Regions from separate parts of the Homo sapiens genome. Here regions 1, 2, 3, 4 and 6 are each linked to region 5. Evidence: promoter capture Hi-C in 16 types of primary human blood cells and fetal thymus (Javierre and others, 2016). All regions are on one chromosome and are shown on one strand. The core of a region is centred on a gene start or on the middle of the fragment in contact, and the rest is flanking DNA. Distances in the headings are between cores, read along the strand shown.

Region 1 (2,863 bases), core at 322-2,821, 640 kb after region 5:
AACAGTCAGGCTGTTCTTGATGTCAACTGGAGGAAGGGCAGTGCTGTATATGGCAAGAAAATAGATGTTTTTAAAAGACATGACATGAAAAATCTCCCTCCTGTTAGTCCCCAGTTCCTTCTCCCAAATTAATCTCTGTGAAACTTTTTTGGGCCAAGCATGGTGGCTCATGCTTATAGTCCCAGCACTTTGAGAGACAGAGGAAGATTGTTCGCGCCTAGGAATTCCAGACCAGCCTGGGCAACATAGTGAGACCTTGTCTCTACAAAAAAAAAATGTTAATTAGCTGGATGTGGTGGCTTGTGCCTGTAGTCCCAGCTACTTGGGAGGCTGAGGTGGGAGGATCACTTAAGCCCGGAAGGCGGAGGTTGCAGTGAGCCAAGATTGTGCCACTGCACTCCAGCCTGGGAGAGTGAGTGGGACCCCATCTCAAAAAAAATATTTTTGGAAGGTGAAGAGGAAATTTAGGCCTATAATTATGTCAGGGGCAGGGGAAGGGGCACACATGCTGGCTTTGAAAAATTGTAGACACTCTTAAGAGGTGGGAGTCAACAGGCCACTGCAGGTATAGCTGACCATGGAGGGCCCCTGTGCTGTGGAGGCTGAGCCAGTGTGACTTGCCTAACCTGGCACCAGAGCTGCGGCTGCTGGCGTCTGGACCTATTATCTGTCCTCTCAAAGGAGCCCACACCAACACACTGGGCCAGCAGCCATTCTGACCTCTTTGGCTAATGGGTTAGAGTTTTTGGATGGGATAACAAGGAATGAAGTATACTCTTCTCATTTTCTATATGTATTTTGAGAGCATAACTTGTAAATTATAAAGATATTAATACCGAGTTCCTGAGAAAGTGTGGTTCACATCAGAGGTTATTAATTGAGGCAATTGGAGTTTCTGGAGATACAAAGTCTTTGCCTTAATTCCTTGCTAACTTTCCTAGCAGTGAAGATGGTTTTTCTATTCAGAGGGCTTTAAGGAAGCAGCGGAGAAGTTTCGAATGGAATCTGGAATCGAACCTAGTGTGGATCTGGAAACACTTGATGAACGAATCAAGATCCGGGAGATGATACTGAAAGGTCAGATTCAGGAGGCCATCGCCTTGATCAACAGCCTCCACCCAGAGCTCTTGGACACAAACCGGTATCTTTACTTCCATTTGCAGGTATGTTTCAGGAGAGAGTAGTCTGGTTTGTGAATACTTGATAAGTTAAAGTTATTTGCAATGATTGAGAAATAACTAGGCTAATTTGCTTTAATAATGTTATTTCAATGCATGTGAGGGGGAGAGGTTTGAGTTTGCTCTTTTATGTAGTTCAGAAGCGGTTTTTTGTTTTAAAAATGCAAATTTGATAACTCAGAGATGCAAGAAAAGTCTTCCCTCTGTGATGTACTTTTGATTGGGACCTGGTACCACCTGCCCTAAGTCCCTGGCCTGGGTGTGTGGGGGTCAAGCTTGTCTGTCTCTGCCTCCAGCAACAGCATTTGATCGAGCTGATCCGCCAGCGGGAGACAGAGGCGGCGCTGGAGTTTGCACAGACTCAGCTGGCGGAGCAGGGCGAGGAGAGCCGAGAGTGCCTCACAGAGATGGAGCGTACCCTGGCACTGCTGGCCTTTGACAGTCCCGAGGAGTCGCCCTTCGGAGACCTCCTCCACACCATGCAGAGGCAGAAGGTGGGGCCTGCCAGAGGGAAGCTTTCTTCCATTCCCCATGTGCTCTGAGGGGGCTTCGTGACAACGCCAAGTGTGTGGCTTTGCTGTGTGGACTGAGAGACAGGTGGCTTCTGTGCCTGGGATGCTAAGTGGTTCCTTCATGGCTTTTTTTTTTTTTTTTGGAGGTGAAGTCTTGTTCTGTCGCCCAGGCTGGAGTGCAGTGACGAGATCTCTGCTCACTGCAACCCCCGCCTCCTGTGTTCAAGCGATTCTCCTGCCTCTGCCTCCCAAGTAGCTGGGACTACAGGAGTGTGCCACCACGCCCAGCTAAGTTTTGTATTTTTAGTGGAGATGGGGTTTCACCATATTGGCCAGGCTGGTCTTGAACCCCTGACCTCAGGTGATCCAGTCTCCCAAAGTACTGGGATTACAGGTGTGAGCCATCATGCTCAGCCTCTCTCTGGCTTTTAATCTTTTATCTTGTCAAACTAGGGACAACGGACTTGGTGATCGTTACACAGTATTCACACCCTTTGCTGGTGTCTTATATTTATCTGAACCTTCTTTCTGTTTATGTCCCAAGTATTTCTCATTTAAAATCCTGTCTTCTGAAACTTTTCTCTCCTCGCTGCTATGTTTTTGTCTGGCAGAACATGACAGCTCCTCGCCTTCCCAGACCCAGGTCCCTCTTCCCCCGGGTCCTCTCCCGGGGGCTCTGTCCTCCCTACGCTGTCTTGGAAGGATGGCCTGTCCTAGAGTCCACTTGAGATGTTTTCTTGAGGCTTGTGAGGAGGGTGCTGGTATGTCCTGCTACGCTGGTCTTACCTCTCTCCCAGTCCCCTCAGCACTTTGTTCAAGGCTTGCTCATGGCACTTAACTGCCATCGAGGTTGCATGTGACGTTTAACAACCAGACTGTGAGCTTCCCCAGGCAAGGACTATGTATTTCATGTCCTGAGAGTGTCTCGCAGTTAAGAGCTTAATGTTTGTTTAAACTGCCTCTTTTTAATAGACTCTGCTGGTGCTCTGCGTGTATGGTGGTTTTTATCAGATGTATTTATATTCTAGGTGTGGAGTGAAGTTAACCAAGCTGTGCTAGATTATGAAAATCGCGAGTCAACACCCAAACTGGCAAAATTACTGAAACTACTACTTTGGGCTCAGAACGAGCTGGACCAGAAGAAAGTAAAATATCCCAAAATGACAGACCTCA
Region 2 (3,109 bases), core at 469-2,968, 570 kb after region 5:
CATGGATTGGAAGGTTCGATAGTGTTAAGATGTCTGTTATTCCCAAAACTGATGTATGCAGTTCCAATAAAAACCCAGCAGTGTCTTAGTCCATTTGTGCTGTCATAACAAGACACCTTAGACTGGGTCACTTATAAACAACAAAAATGTATTGCTCCTAGTTCTGGAAGCTGGAAAGTCCCAGATCAAGGCACCAGCATATGTGATGGCTGATGAGGGCCTGTTCCGCTCAGATGCTGCCTTCCTGCCACATCCTCATGTGGCAGAGAGAGAAAATCAGCTCCCCCAGGCCTCTTGTAAAAGGGCACTAATCCCATTCATGATGGCTCTCCCGTCATGACCTAGTCACCTCCTAAAGGCCCCTCTTCTTATTTTTTATTTATTTATTTTTTTGAGATGGAGTCTCGATTTATTGCCCAGGCTGGGGTGCAATGGCATGATCTCGGTTCACTGCAACGTCTGCCTCCCGGGTTCAAGCAATTCTTCTGCCTCAGCCTCCTGAGTAGCTGGGATTACAGGCACGTGCCACCACGCCTGGCTAATAGTTTTGTATTTTCAGTAGAGACAGGGTTTCACCATGTTGGTCAGGCTGGTCTTGAACTCCTGACCTCAGGTGACCCGCCCGCCTCGGCCTCCCAAAGTGCTGGGATTACAGGCGTGAGCCACCGCACCCGGCCATTGTTTTAAAGACCCCTCTTCTTAATGCCACCACAGTGCAGATTAGGTTTCAGTATGAATCTTGGAGGGATACAAACTCAGACCGCAGCAAGCAGGGTTTTTTTTCTTTCTTTCTCTCTCAAATTCTTGGAAGGTTGAGCAGGGCAGGGTCACCAGGCCTGCCGGCAACTGCTCCCCTTCCTCTCATCCTCCTGTAGCTTCTTGGACTCCTGGGCCAATTGATTTTTCTGTTCCGTGATGTGGAGTGATCAAAGCTGGTTCTGGGTTTTCTGGAGCTGGATCTTTGATTGCCTTTGATTTAAAAGCATTGGTAACCGTTTCTCACGGGAAAGAGGCGCTGATAATTCATGCAAATGAGCATCAATGGGCAAAATTCAACCAAGTGCCTCTGGAACCAAGGCTGCCATTGAACATTCTAGTAAAAATGGGGTGGAGGCTTTTGCCCAAGTGCTCTGGATAATCTGGGAAAAGAAAATGGTGAGTCAGTGCTTTATTTTATTTATTTATTTATTTATTTATTTGTTTGTTTTTGAGGCGGAGTCTTGCTCTGTCACCCAGGCTGGAGTGCAGTGGTGCGATCTCGGCTCACTGCCACCTCTGCCTCCTGGGTTCAAACGATTCTCCTACCTCAGCCACCCAAGCAGCTGGGATTACAGGCACATGCCACGATGCCTGGCTATTTTTTGTATTTTTCTGGTAGAGACAGGGTTTCACCATGTTGGCCAGGCTGGTCTCGAGCTCCTGACCTCAAGTGATCTGCCTGCCTCGGCCTCCCAAAGTGCTGGGATTACAGGTGTGAATCACCGTGCCCAGCCGAATTTTTTTTTTCTTTTTTTTTCTTTTTAGATGGAGTCTCTGTCACCCAGGCTGGAGTACGGTGGCACGATGTTGGTTCACTGCAACGTCCGCCTCCTGGGTTCAAGCGATTCTTCTGCCTCAGCCTCCCGAGTAGCTGGGATTACAGGCACGTGCCACCATGCCCAGCTAATTTTTTTAGTAGAGACGGGGTTTGGGGTTTCACCATGTGAGCCAGGATGGTCTCGATCTCCTGACCTCATGATCCCCCCGCCTCGGCCTCCCAAAATGCTGGGATTACAGGCATGAGCCACCGTGCACGGCCTTTTTTTTTTTTTTTTTTTAAATAGAGGCAAGGTTCACCATGTTGCCCAGCCTTGTCTCCAACAAGCTCAAGGGATTCACCTCCTCACAGACAGTGCTCCCACAGGCGTGAGCCACCACGCCCCACCTTATTTATTTTTATGTATCTTAACTTCCAAGGTGGATTTATTTAAAGGTTTTACAATAACTATGTCCAGGCTTTAGGCTCATGGGAAGTAAATGAGGACACCTTTTTCCCAAGAAGAATTTCTTTAAAACCAAGCACATTGCTAAATAACAACATTATATTTGGCAAACAATAATTGGCAACAAAATAAGTTTATTATTCTGCCCAAGCCAGTCCCAGATGCTGTTTCTTAACCAAGATACAAACAAATTTTGCTGTAGCAAGTCTAGACCAATTTTATCAAACATGTCTTTGGTTAGATGTCTAGTTTCATTTAACGTTTTGAAAACTCATTTGACAGCCAGTCAAGTCCCTCATCTACACCAGCTCCGTGTTGCACAAGTGGCTTGAACATACCATGTCCTGTTAGGAAGAGACTGAAGAGCTGGCTGGCTCATCTGTCGTCACACTGATGGCCCGAGCGCTGGGCAAACCCTGTTTGTTTGCAGAGAGCAGTGGCGCTGCGTCTCCACACTCACCGGCCAGAAGCCTTTTCTGCAGCGCGTCCGCCACTTCCCGAATTCTTTCATGATCGTTGCTATCTACCAGCAAAAGAAAACCCTGGGTATTCTGGAAGTAATGCTTCCAGAGAAGCCTAATTACATCTTGACCATGAACATCCCACACCATGAAACAAGTGTTCTCTTTTTGAGTCAGAGTCTCGCTCTGTCATCCAGGCTGGAGTGCAATGGCGCAATCTCAGCTCACTACAACTTCCACCTCCCGGGTTCAAGCAATTCTCCTGCCTCGGCCTCCCGAGTAGCTGGGATTACAGGAGCCCACCACTATGCCTGGCTAATTTTTGTATATTTAGTAGAGACAGGGTTCCACCATATTGGCCAGGCTGGTCTTGAACTCCTGACCTTGTGATCTGCCTGCCTCGGCCTCCCAAAGTGCTGGGATTATAGGCATGAGCTACCGTGCCTGGCCCAAAACAAGTGTTCTTATATTCTACTCTTTCCATGTTAAAACCAATGGCAGGAACTGTGGTGAGTACCTCCCCTAACTTCAGTTTATACACAATGTATAGGCAGCATCCAATCGAACCGTCCAAATGTGCATCTGCTTCTTGCTGAAGAGGCGGGAGAAGAGAGAGGAGATGGCGGGGACCATGGGTTCGTGGCACTTGTGATGGGCAGAAGCAGA
Region 3 (3,226 bases), core at 95-2,594, 610 kb after region 5:
AGCAGATGCTACCAACCCCCAAGAGAAAGGGGCCGGGGCAGCGCAGGAAGGAGTGGAGTCCCAGGCTTGCCCCAGGGAGGCAGGCAGAGGCCCAGCCAGACCAGGGCCAGAGAGGAGTCGCCAAGCATCAGCTTCTTTTCCATTTGGAGCCTATGTCCGAGATGGACCCCACTCAATAAAATCCACCACAAAACAGAGGAACAAGAACAAAAAGTGAAAAGGCTGAACATCGAAATTATATAAGAATGTAATAATTGAAAATTCTTAATAATGTATCTGAATTATTTTAATTAAAAACAAGAAAAATTTTAGAATACTAATGTTTGTGACGTACTAAAATCAACACGATACAGTTCACCACGTGTGTTTAAGAAACAATTCTCTTGTATCCTCTCTCAACCAGTCACATCACAACACTCAAAGGTTCCAGGTGCCGAGTTTCTAGCTAGGTCCTTGCCCCAAAGCCGACACTTCCAAACTGAGCCCCAGCTCTCACCTCTTCCTCAGCCTCAAGACCAACTGCCTTCCCTCTGTGGTCTCCCTGGCAACCTCAGAACAAAGGGACAAACATTCCAACTCCCCTCCTTTTAAAGGGACAGTGACAACTGGGCATAGTGTTTCGCATCTGTGATCCCAGCTGCTTGGGAGGACTGCTTGAGCCCAGGAGTTCAACACCAGCCCAGGCAACGTGTCACCATGTAGACACCCCGTCTCTACAAAAAATAAAAATAAGACAGGCATTCCCTCTGATAAGCCAAACGGCATCGTCATAGTCACCATCTCTTCAATGTGGTAAAACTATCATCCTCAAAACAATTACTTCAAGAATTCAGAAACGACTGCTCAGAAAACACTGGAAATAAACTTTTATATTTTGCAACACTGAGCATTTAATTTATTTTACTTTACTTTTTAAAGAGTTGGCATCTTGCTTTGTTGCCCAGGCTGGAGTGCAGTGGCCCAATCATGGCTCACTACAGTCTCAAACTCCGGGGCTCAAGTGATCCTCCTGGCTTAGCCTCATGAGCAACTGGGACTACAGATGCGTGCCACTATGCCCAGCTAATTTTTGAAAAAAATTCTTTTAGAGACAGGGTTTTGCTATGTTATCCAGGCTGGTCTTGAACTGCTGGCCTCAAGCAATCCTCCTGCCTCAGCCTCCAGAGTTTTGGGGAGTACATGAACGAGCCACCATGCCCAGCCAACACTGAACATTTATAAAAGCAAAGAAATTAAGAAGTTCTCGGGAACGAAAACTGATTTTTAAAAATTCAATTTATGTTAATCTGCGAATAAACACGCTACTAGATTTGAGTTCTGAGTAATCAGAAAAATGTAGTTATTTCTGTTAAGTAGAATTCAATGAAGGATATACCTTCGGAAAAGATCAGATCACTTTATATTTACAAAACTGATTTCATAATGTCTTCAACAGAGAAAATTTACTATAACATTTCAGTCAGCTTGTAAAATAAAAACATATGTATATCAAGGCACAAGCAAAAAAACCTGTTCTAACACAACTTTTTGTGTGTATAATTAGTGTGTAATTCTACACACTACACAGCCCATCACAGGGGGAATGTGTTCATAAAACTGCAACCATATTGTATCAGTAACAACTTTTCCCCAGAAAGAAAAATGTGGGTATCCTTGAAGCTGGGAAGTGAACAAACTACAGGTTAAAACAGAATGTACCAAATTTAATATTTCCACATTTCTAAGCACATTTTTTTCCCCAGCTGAAAACTGCTTCATTTTCTATTGACTAGAAGCAGCTGATGAGCGGCGATTCAAGCAGAGGACACACACTGACTTCCAAATGCTTGAATGGCGGCTCTCAAACCTTTTGTCTCAAGACACTTTTACAAGTTGAGAACACCAAAGAGCTTTTGTTTATGTGGAATGTATTGCTATTTTCAAAATTCTAAGTATGTATTAAAAATAAACCTATTAATACATTAATAGTATCTTTAAATGAAAGTTATTTCTAAAACAAACAAAAATGAACAGGAAGAGTGGCCCTGTTGTACATTTTTGCAAATTTCTGGCATAACCGAAGACAGCTCCATGTTCATGTCTACTTCTGCCCTCAATCTGTTCCCATAGAGTGTTTCAGCTAAAACATGTCATCAAAATCTTGCCTCACACAGATAGGTCTTTAGAATGGAGTATTGTAACCATCTTCACATAACTGGATGTTCACTGATACTACACCAACTCTCGCCAAGGAGCAGTTTCATAAAAGTTAGCTGAAACAGAATTTGCAGCCTTTGTCAAGGAACTTCTCCCTTTCTTTCATGAAAACTGACTGCTGTGTTCACTCTGAACACGTCCTTGCACTCTGGACCCATGTGCATGCTGTTCACCTGGATGACACGGGTTCAAGTAACAGACAGATTCTCAATGTCCACACATCTCATCGGATAGCATAAAACAAACATTTTTTTTCCTGTTGCCCAGGATGGAGTGCAGTGGTGCAATCAAGGATCACTGCAGCCTCAGCACCTCCCCCACCCACACCACCGCCAGGCTCAAAGCGGTCTTCCCACCTCACCCTCCCCAGTAGCTGGGACTACAGGTGCATGCCACCATGCCCAGGTAATTTTTGCATTTTTTTTTGTAGAGACAGGGTCTTACTATGTTGCCCAAGCTGGTCTCAAACTCCTGGGATCAAGTGATCTACCCACCTCCGCCTTCCAAAGTGCTGGGATTACAAGTGTGAGTCACCTCACCTGGCCGATAATGTCGGGTCCAATCTCCAAGAAGACTTTAATTACTAGAAAGCCATCAGGTTTACAATGGCAGATACAAGTTTTCTAAAATTCCAATTTTCACCCCAAAGCTCAAATTTTATCCTTAGCAACAAATACTGTTCGTTTTTTCTTTGAGACATCACTCGTTTTGGACAAAACGCCTGCCACATGCTGAGTCTGAAAACTGTCCTCCGTCTGTTGTTCTGTCAGGGACAGACAGCGTTTCCGAGACCACTCGGCTCCCAGCTCAATCCCCTAGGGCTGTGCGTGGACAGTACCACGTGGGGATGCAGCAGAAGCTTTATATATAACTTGACATTTAATCACAGCGAAAGTAAAAAAGATGTATGTTTGCGGGTTCCGAAAAAAATTAATATTTACTGCATCATCAGGGACATTATTTGGGAAAATTGGCATATTCTAAACATTCGGTGCCCATGCACGGTGCTGAAGAGGGCTCCAATCTGCCC
Region 4 (3,219 bases), core at 719-3,218, 710 kb after region 5:
AACTCCTACTAAAGGAAATAATTCCTAGAGTTGGGCTGCCTAAGAGCTTACAGAGCGATAATGGCTCACCTTTCACAGCGACAGTTACCCGAAACACATCTTCAGCCCTAGGAATTCAGTGCCGCCTTGACTCGGCACGGAGGCCACAGTCTTTGGGGAAAGTAGAAAGAGCTAATCAAACTCTAAAAAGGACTCTTGCTAAACTATGCCAAGAGACATCAGAAACCTGGAGGTCTTTATTACCTGTAGCCTTATTACGGGTTCGAATGGCCCCTAAGGGAAATCTGCATCTCAGCACTTTTGAAATAATGTATAGAAGGCCTTTCTTAACTACAGACCTCCTAATAGACATAGATACTTTCAAGCTACAGAATTATGTGATCAACTTAGGACAAGTGCAAAACGCACTCCTTGACTATGGAAATCAGAGACTCCCTTCCCCCACTGAGGAAGACAATCTGGTTCCAACCCAGCTGGGAGACTGGGTCCTATTGCAAACTTGGAAGGAAGGATCCTCAGCAGATCAACTTTCCCCCCAAGTGGAGGGGACTCTATCAAGTTCTCCTTAGTACCCCAACTACAGTTAAACTTCTGGGAATAAACAGCTGGGTCCACTTATCTCAAATTAAACCTGTCTCTTATAAAGCCCCACAGGCCAACGGAACACAAGAGACTGATCCCGTTTATTCCCGTGAGCCAGTCAGTGACCTCTGATTCCTGTTCCTAAGAAATGAGAGGGATGGGGGGCATAAATACCTGGATTGGCATTCTACTTTTAGGCACAAGTTGGAATCATGCAGAGAGTGATTTATTTACTGAGTAGGCACAGACTTTAGCCTGTCTACATAATCACATAAACGGTTGGGTATGTGGAGAATTGCCACTTTCCTCCACCTCTGGGTTGCCCTGGCATAGTCAACTGGCCAGCCTAAGTCTGTGGGGATTTTACGTTCCAGACCATTACCCAGGCTATGAGAGCTTTAGAGCTCACGTCTCTGCCATTGATGAGCTGTCAGTCAGTCCTCTATTGGCTTGGTTCCAACAGCTGCCCAGTTCTTGGAAAGCCTTTCTGTTTAGCTAGTTTACTTGGAATGATTTTATTTATTTTGCTTTGCTATTGTAGAATATATTGCGGTTGTACTCTTTGTGTAGGAATGCATGACAAGCTCACTCAACACTTTCTTCAGTTGGACATTTTTTTGTTTTTTTTTTGTTTTTTTTTGAGACGGAGTCTTTCTCTGTAGCCCAGGCTGGAGTGCAGTGGCATGATCTTGGCTCACTGCAACCTCCACCTTCTGGGTTCAAGTGATTCTCCTGCCTCAGCCTCTTGAGTAGCTGGGATTACAGGCGCACACCACCATGCCTAGCTAATTTTGTATTTTTAGTAGAGACGGGGTTTCTCCATGTTGGTCAGGCTGGTCTTGAACTCCTGACCTCAGATGATCCACCCGCCTCAGCCTTCCAAAGTGCTGGGATTACAGGTGTGAACCACCATGCCCATCCTGTTTTTCCTTCTTAAATGAGACAAGAGGGATAGAGAATGGGGCTGTGTGTTTCCCTTCCCAACATAAAAGACTGGAGGGAGCTGGAGTTGATACTTCCCTTCCTCCAGGTTGGTTAGACTCTGATTAAACTCTGGTACGTTAAAAATAGTTTCTCTTGAGGGCAGAGGAAGAACAGAATGCTCTGGCATATTTCGAAAGTGCTACTTCTCCCCTCCCCTTGTCCAAAGCACAAGGGGATTTTTCTCTGGTATTTACCTGGGGGATCTGGTAGAGTTTGTGCAGGTAAAACTCACAGAAGTGTGGCCTCCACCCTAAGACTGGGCCCTGGAGTTTTTAACTGTCAAGCTTGGCCACACAGCCTCCAGCAATCTGCCAGTGACAGTTTAGGTTTTCCCAACCTGGCAGTGGTTCCCAGGGAGGTGTCTGCTCTGCAGAATTGGGATTCTCTGCATCTGTCTGTCGTCTCTACAACTTTTTTGGGCAGTGGTTTGCCCTGTGACCTCATCATCTGTTGAATATAAGAAATATTATTGACTTTCAGTTTGCTCACGTTTTGTTCTTGTGAAAAGATTGATTGTTTCCAAGCTTCTCACACAGTGGACTAGAAATTGATTCATTTCATTTATCCTTTTTGGGTTTGTGGGGTTCTTGAATTTGTGACTTGATGATTTTGATTACTTTTAGAAATTTCCTGGCTATTAACTCTGGAGTATTGCTTCAACCTCATGTTCTCTCATCTCCTCTCTGGGATCCAGTTACAAATATATTGGTCCTTCTTCCTGAATCCTTTGTGTATCTTAACCTGTCACCTGTATTTTCCATTTGTATTATCCATACTTCATTCTGAATATTTTCTACTGACCTATTTTCCACTTCACTAATTCTCTCTTCAGCTGAATTTGCTATTAAAGCCACTAAGTTTATAATTTAAGTGATTTTATTTTTCAGTGCTAGAATTTTCATTTGGTTTTTCTAGGTTTTTTTTTTTTTTTTTGCTGAAATTCTAAATTCCACCTCTATTTCTGCAAATGCTGTAAGCACAGTTTTGTTCCAGTCTCTGTCTCGCGACTCCAGTGTCTGGACTGGTAGATCTTCTGCCTATGGTCTCTGCTGCTTTCATTCTTGCTGATTTGTTTTTTCAATTGTCTAGAATTTTTATTGTGGACTGAACATTGTATTTGTAAAATTATTTTGTAGAAATCATTTGAGGTCTATTTTATTTTCCTCCAGAGAGGGTTTATGTTTGCATCTGCGAGACATGGGGGCACTAGGGGTCCTGGATCATCTTACTCTAGTTTCAGGGATTGAAATCATTTCAAGATGATTACAGTTTAGGTTTTCCTACCCTGGCAGTGGTGCAAAAGGCCCTGAGTTGCTGCAAGAGCCGGTCTCCTTCTATCCACCCCTATGTCTAGGGTGCGGTTATTTGTTGTCCCAACTCAAAATGGTGGGGGTCGGGGGGATGTTCGCCAACTCCCCACTCTCAGGTGGGCTGAATCTCTCGCTGTCTGGCTCCTCAGTGGGCTGTGAGCTATCTGAAGCAGCAAATGCTTTGGGGGAAAAGTGAGCGTCCCGAAGGCTTTTTTCACTCTGGATCTTTGTCTTTCTGGGATTTTGTTTGTTTGCATTCCAAGCAAATATTTTTAACATTTTGCTCAGCTTTTGTAGTCACCATCAGAAAAGTGATGGGTCCAGATTAACTAGTCCCTAATAA
Region 5 (2,894 bases), core at 225-2,724:
TGAGGACCCTGGCACAGTCTCAGCTGCAAACATCTAGTCTTGCTTAACTGGGGTGCAGAGGCCACTGCACCTCAGGGTTCTCACGAAGCGCCTGACCTCTCTATTTTATTACTATTATTATTATTATTTTTTTTTTTTGAGAAGGAGTCTTCCTCTGTCGCCCAGGCTGGAGTGCAGTGGTGCAATCTCGGCTCACTGCAACCTCCACCTCCCGGGTTCAGGCGATTCTCGTGCATCAGCCTCCTGAGTAGATGGAATTACAGGCATGTGCCAGCATACCTGGCTAATTTTTGCATTTTTAGTAGAGTCGGGGTTTCATTCACCATGTTGCCCAGGCTGGTCTTGAACTCCTGGCCTCAAGTAATCCGCCCGCCTCGGCCTCCCAAAGTTCTGGGTTTACAGGCGTGAGCCACCGCGCCTGAGCCCTCTAAGAGCCCCCGCCTGGCGTCGCTGTAGGCAAATCCCAAAGAACGTGTCCCTTCAGCAGCCGGCTGGGGCGCCACAAACACTATCTGTTGTCTTCGCTTTAGTTTGTGTCAAAGTGACTCAAAGTTACACAACACTGGCGGGCGACTGCCGCCTTTTTACCCTGTGGCCTTTCCCATCCAGGCGTCCAGAGGGTGAGCCCCTGCCCTCCAGGACCCCTCCCTTCCAGGACCCTACCCGTCTGGGACTCAGGCCTTCCCTGACTCCTCCCTCCCGGACTCACCCCTCCCAGATCCCTCCCCTCCGGGACCCTCTCCCCTCCCGGGCCCCCTCCCCTCCGGGAACCCCTCCCCTCCCGGACTCACCCCTCCCAGATCCCTCCCCTCCAGGAGCCCCTCCCCTCTCGGGACCCCTCTCCTCCCGGACCCACCCCTTCCTGACCCCTGCCCTCCCGGACCCCTGCGGGACTAGATGTATACAGCTGAGACCATATCACGGTTCTCACCCTCGCTCTACCCTCCCGGACCCCTGCTCTCCCGGACGCGTGGACTCCAGCTCCCGCCTGGGTCCCCAAAGCGCTGAACCCATGGTCACTTCTATGCGTAGCCCTGGTGCCCGCCGCCCACAGCCGGACCGCACTCCTCGGCCTCCGCCTAACCCCTGGCTCAGCCACACGAGTGACAGCTCTGCCCGCCCGGGCGGGCGACGCCGAGGGGTGGGCTCGGCCCCACCTGAGCAGTTCCCCAGCGCCCCTCTGAAACCCGCCTGTGGTCCCTGGCGCCGCCTCTAGGGGCCGCCGCCGCTCCCCTATGACACAGCAACAATAGGGGCCGCTCTGGTCCAAGCGCCCTGCGGCCCGCGCTTCCGCCGGAAAAGAGCCGCCGGCGCGGGGGCGGACCGGGGAGGAGCGAGTGCGATGGACGGTCGCCCTCGCCAATCGTTGGCAGGTTAGAGCCGGCTGCGCGGCTTACGGGGCTCAATCGGCGGCGAGAGCGGCAGGCGGGGCGGGCCGAACGCGGGTTTCCGGCGGGGCCCGGCAGGCGCCGAGGAGGAAGAGCGAGCCCGGACGGCGCCTCTCGAACGAGTGTGGGCGCGAGGCAGGTGCGGGAGTCGCCGGGCCTGGGGCGGCCGGGGGCGACCGGAGGCGGGGGCAGGGGCTGCTGGACCAAGGATGGGGCGGGGGCAGCCAAGACGAGAAGGTGGCCGGCGCGGCGGGTGGGGCCTGCGGGGGCCGGGCCGGGCGGGGGTTCTGGGGTCTCGGGCGCCGCCCCGGTTCCGCCTGCGGCTCTGAACGTGGGGCTCGGCGGGAGCTCGGGCGGGTCTGCCCCGCGGAGCGGGTCGCCGGGGTGGCGCGTCGAGGCTGGTGCCCCGCGGAGACGGCGTCAAGCCTAGGGCCGGCCCCACTAGGCTTGGCGGGGCTGCCCCGGCCCAGCGCCGAGTGCGGGCGGTGCGATCGTCGTGAGCGGGGCAAACGCGGAAAGGCAGCCCGGCGTGTCTGAGTCTGCCTTAGGCAGCTCTGGGCGCAGGCCCCCTGCTCGCAAACACCCCAGGGGGCGGGAGCTTGCCGGACCGCAGGCGACAGTGACCGCCGCGTCTCAGCGTCCTCTCCGCGCTTTCAGGATGACGACCTCAGGCGCGCTCTTTCCAAGCCTGGTGCCAGGCTCTCGGGGCGCCTCCAACAAGTACTTGGTGGAGTTTCGGGCGGGAAAGATGTCCCTGAAGGGGACCACCGTGACTCCGGATAAGCGGAAAGGGCTGGTGTACATTCAGCAGACGGACGACTCGCTTATTCACTTCTGCTGGAAGGACAGGACGTCCGGGAACGTGGAAGACGTGAGTGTCCCTGAGCCGCAGCAGCAGGACAGGCGACTTCTCGGGCCCTCGGAGTCCTCGCTTTGGAGTTCGCGGTGGGGGCTTGGCCGCATCTGGGGACCGCTCGTGGGGCCGTCATCGACTGCCCTGCTGATGGGTCGTCCTGGTTTCCGCGGTGACAGGGGCATCTCGGCCACTGTGTATCTTGAACTGTCCGTGTGAGGTGCCTGGGTTGGAGGTGTGGCCCTGGAGAGCCCGGAGCTCTGTGCCTGGCCTTGAACTGTCCGTGTGAGGTGCCTGGGGTTGGAGGTGTGGCCCTGGAGAGCCTGGAGCTCTGTGCCTGGCGGCTTCACTCAGTCTTCTTTGTTTTTCAAACTCTTAGTTGTTCTTTGTTACATTTGAGAGCAGTTCAGCGTTGACTTTTTAACTACTCTGGGAATGTTGTTTCCAGCACGTCTCAGAAACCCCGTTGCCATCTGAAAGGCCCCTTTCCCTGCTCTCTCCCCCGGCCTTGCCTTTCATGGGCTGTCTCTGACCCTGGCTTCTCTGCCTTGTGGAGACCCTGCCAGCGAGGGGTCTGGCGGCTTAGCTGCCCCTTGCGCACCCCACCCGGTTAGACCCAGGGCTCAGTACGCTCTCCTGAGACTGGGCACAGT
Region 6 (3,207 bases), core at 703-3,202, 530 kb after region 5:
TCGGCTCACTGCAACCTTCCCAGTTCAAGCGATTCTCCTGCCTCAGCTTCCTGAATAGCTGGGATTACAGGCGCCTGCCACCACGCCCAGCTAATGTTTGTATTTTTAGTAGAGACAAGGTTTCACCATGCTGGCCAGGCTGGTCTCGAATTCCCGACCTCAGGCAATCTGCCCGCCTCGGCCTCCCAAAGTGCTGGGATTACAGGTACGAGCCACCGCCCCTGGCCTAATTGTTGTATTTTTAGTAGAGACGGGGTTTCACCATGTCGGCCAGGCTGGTCTCAAACTCCTGACCTCAGGTGATCCACCTGCCTCAGCCTCCCAAAGTGCTGGGATTACAGGCGTGAGCCGCCGTGTCAGGCCCACAGCTGGTTTTTAACTGAAGAAAACTCCACTTCCACAGGCCTAAAACTCAGGTGAAGCATAAAATTACGTTCTTGTTTGAGTCCCTTGATAGGCACATTTCTCCTTCTGGAGGTAACAAATGGAGCAGTCGTGAGTCCGAGGGAAGGACGGCCTTTCTGGCTTTCCCGAGGGGGGTTTTCATCTATGATTAAGTCTTTCCTTTGCGTCTGGGTGAAATAGAAACAGCCTAGCCCCAGGGACCCCAGTCTCTGGCAGACCCCCACAGCCCAGTGTAAACTTTTTATGCCTGGGGACAAAAGACCTCAGTTGTATGTGTTTCATTTAGTGAATTCTTTTTTTATTTTTTTTTGAGACGGAGTCTTGCTCTGTCCCCAGGCTGGAGTGCGGTGGTGTGATCTCAGCTCACTGCAATCTCTGCCTCCTGCGTTCAAGCGATTCTCCTGCCTCAGCCTCCCGAGTAGCTGGGACTACAGGTGCCCACCATCACACCCGGCTAATTTTTGTATTTAGTAGAGATGGGGTTTCACCATGTTGGCCGGGCTGGTCTCAAACTCCTGACCTTGTGATCCGCTCGCCTTGGCCTCCCAAAGTGCTGGGATTACAGGCGTGAGCCACCTCGCCCAGCCCATTTAGTGAATTCTTAGACAACACTGACAAATGGACCCTGGAAATCCCAGAAGCTGCCCTACGTGGCCACTGTTGCTGGTGGGGTGAGGGGCAGAGCCCCTTGCAGGCGGAAAACCTAAGGCTTTGCTCTCAGCTACTCGCACGGTCGGGCTGTGTGAGGTGACCCCCTACCCTCCTGGCCTCCGCGGAGCATGCTGTCTGGGCCCGGTCGGTCCCTCTGCTGTGCGGTTAGACTGTGTCAGTCTGTATTCTGCAGCTGTAACAGAACACCGCAGCTTGGGTAGTTTACAAGGGAAAGAGATCCATGTGGCTCCTAGTTCTGGAGGCTGGGAAGCCCAAGACCGAGGGGTGCATCCATCGAGGGCCTCCCCACTGCGTCATTCCATGGTGGAAGGCAGAAGGGCCAAGAGGAGGTGCCAGAGAGAGAAAGGGGCCCAACCCATCCTTTTCATGAGGAACCCACTGCGGAGACAACGGTGTTAGTTTACTCCGGAGAGCCGAGCTCTCAAACCTAATCACCTCTTAATAGCATTGCAGTGCAGTGGCCGTTCAATTGCAGCATGTGTTTTGGAGGAGACATTAACCCGGCTGACTGTGTGTTGACGCACCTGGGGCCAGTCATTCCTGAGGACCCAGCTGGAGGGGGTTCCAGGGTTTTAGGGCAGAGAGGTTCAGCCCAGCATTAGGCGTGTTAGTAAGAAAAAGGAATGGAAGCAAAGTAAGCGTGTGTAAGAGACAGCACCGTGCAGCTAACAAAGTCACTCTTCCCAGGAAAGTAAGTTTTTAAAAAGCTTCAATCAATCAGTGCAATCACAGAAATATAAAAAATGTATATAGAAGAACGGAAGGAACCACTGTCAATATTTGGATGTAGTCTAATAGCAGGTGTGTGGATGATTTGATTTATTTTATCCTCAACTGGCTACTTCCCACCCACCCAACAATACACTTAGTTCAAACACACAACTTTTCTCTTCACAGGGTCCCAGCGGCCTGGTCGGACCCAAAGGAGAGGTGAGTGCCCGGCGACTGTTCCGATGACACCATCCATGGGCGCCTGCTGGCTTCCTGCCCACCTCTGGGCAACCAGGCAGCCCTGCAGGGCACTGCCCAGATCCGAGATGTAAAAAAGCTTGCTCTGGTCAAGGCTGGGCAAGACGGCTCCGTGCCGGCTGGGAAAGAGCACGTCGGGGTGGCTCTGGGCTCCTGGGCTCGCCCCTGACCCACCTTCCTCTGTTCCTCTGCAGTCTGGCAGTCGAGGGGAGCTGGGCCCCAAAGGCACCCAGGGTCCCAACGGCACCAGCGGTGTTCAGGGTGTCCCCGGGCCCCCCGGTCCTCTGGGCCTGCAGGGCGTCCCGGGTGTTCCTGGCATCACGGGGAAGCCGGGAGTTCCGGTACGTCGCTTTTCCGGCTTTTCCAGCTTTCACAGGGTTGAGATCGTGTTTTTTCCGGAAGGAAGTTACTTTGCGGGGTGACGGTGGGAATGCCTCACCGAGGCTGCCGCCCCCATGCTGACGAATGTGTGGGGTGAATTCCAGGGGAAGGAGGCCAGCGAGCAGCGCATCAGGGAGCTGTGTGGGGGGATGATCAGCGGTAAGTCAGCCACGTGCACCGGCTGCAGCGGGGCCCATCCCCGCCTGGGGGTCCCGTGCCTGGGGCTACACAGAAAGCCTTCGTGCCACTGCTTTCCAGCCAAAGTGAGCCCCTAGCACTCACCCCGCCTGTTAGCCCTTGGGGGTCCACGTCCGCCTTGGCGTCTGCCTGTCCTCTGCGCTAGAGGATGGCCCACGCTCCCGCCCCGGATTCAACCAGATTCCCAGCACGCAGCAGACGCCCTAAAGCCTGCTGAATGCAATGGGTACAAGAACAGCGGAGTGTGCCCCTGTGGCTGGCAGGGCAGGTCCCTAAACACCCCCAAGGGCACTTCCTTCACCTTCCCACTCAGGCTTCTCAGGCTCCAAGGGGTTGGGGGTCCTTTCTAGCTCCAGCATTCATCACCCCAAAGCAGTTAAACCATTTTCCATCAATCAGAAGGAAAACTTGCTTCTGGAAGACAGCACCGTGTAGATATTTTATGCTTTACGTAACAATACTTCTGATGATCCTCTCTCGAGTAAACGCCTGCACCCTTGTTTTCCCAAAGAACAAATTGCACAGTTAGCCGCGCACCTAAGGAAGCCTTTGGCACCCGGGTCCATTGGTCGGCCCGGTCCA

The links. The method cuts DNA at HindIII sites, captures the fragments that hold promoters and counts their contacts. A CHiCAGO score of 5 or more calls a contact.
Region 1: a fragment that was not itself captured here is called in contact with the fragment with the promoter of ADRM1 in region 5 in 1 of 17 cell types (neutrophils); the score reaches 7.9 in neutrophils.
Region 2: a contact is called between a fragment that was not itself captured here and the fragment with the promoter of ADRM1 in region 5, in 1 of 17 cell types (monocytes). The highest score is 5.5, in monocytes.
Region 3: a contact is called between a fragment that was not itself captured here and the fragment with the promoter of ADRM1 in region 5, in 1 of 17 cell types (neutrophils). The highest score is 6.8, in neutrophils.
Region 4: a contact is called between a fragment that was not itself captured here and the fragment with the promoter of ADRM1 in region 5, in 1 of 17 cell types (naive B cells). The highest score is 5.9, in naive B cells.
Region 6: a fragment that was not itself captured here is called in contact with the fragment with the promoter of ADRM1 in region 5 in 1 of 17 cell types (total B cells); the score reaches 6.0 in total B cells.

Annotation. Positions count from the first base shown.
Region 1 is chr20:62,942,021-62,944,883 of GRCh38, forward strand. GID8 (GID complex subunit 8 homolog) reads left to right here. Exons shown (of 5, transcript NM_017896.3): 3 at 967-1,163; 4 at 1,475-1,672; 5 at 2,719-2,863. Among named protein-coding and RNA genes, the nearest start is that of GID8, 5.3 kb to the left of the region's middle. The HindIII fragment of the contact is 240 bases long and covers 1,452-1,691 here.
Region 2 is chr20:62,870,013-62,873,121 of GRCh38, forward strand. The region is part of intron 1 of LOC105372717 (a long non-coding RNA gene); the gene reads left to right. It also overlaps the pseudogene ARF4P2. Among named protein-coding and RNA genes, the nearest start is that of TCFL5, 9.7 kb to the left of the region's middle. The HindIII fragment of the contact is 6,367 bases long and covers 1-3,109 here.
Region 3 is chr20:62,914,590-62,917,815 of GRCh38, forward strand. The region is part of intron 1 of DIDO1 (death inducer-obliterator 1); the gene reads right to left. Among named protein-coding and RNA genes, the nearest start is that of DIDO1, 10 kb to the right of the region's middle. The HindIII fragment of the contact is 3,417 bases long and covers 1-3,053 here.
Region 4 is chr20:63,011,077-63,014,295 of GRCh38, forward strand. No RefSeq gene overlaps it. Among named protein-coding and RNA genes, the nearest start is that of BHLHE23, 5.7 kb to the left of the region's middle. RefSeq lists an enhancer at 1,862-2,011. The HindIII fragment of the contact is 240 bases long and covers 1,849-2,088 here.
Region 5 is chr20:62,301,523-62,304,416 of GRCh38, forward strand. It overlaps ADRM1 (ADRM1 26S proteasome ubiquitin receptor), which reads left to right and starts at 1,475. Exons shown (of 10, transcript NM_007002.4): 1 at 1,475-1,527; 2 at 2,046-2,259. The coding sequence starts at 2,047. RefSeq lists silencers at 985-1,104, 1,125-1,584. The HindIII fragment of the contact is 19,122 bases long and covers 1-2,894 here.
Region 6 is chr20:62,833,947-62,837,153 of GRCh38, forward strand. It overlaps COL9A3 (collagen type IX alpha 3 chain), which reads left to right. Exons shown (of 32, transcript NM_001853.4): 27 at 1,975-2,007; 28 at 2,241-2,387; 29 at 2,532-2,586; 30 at 3,137-3,207. Among named protein-coding and RNA genes, the nearest start is that of COL9A3, 18 kb to the left of the region's middle. RefSeq lists enhancers at 1-319, 1,843-3,042. The HindIII fragment of the contact is 341 bases long and covers 1,783-2,123 here.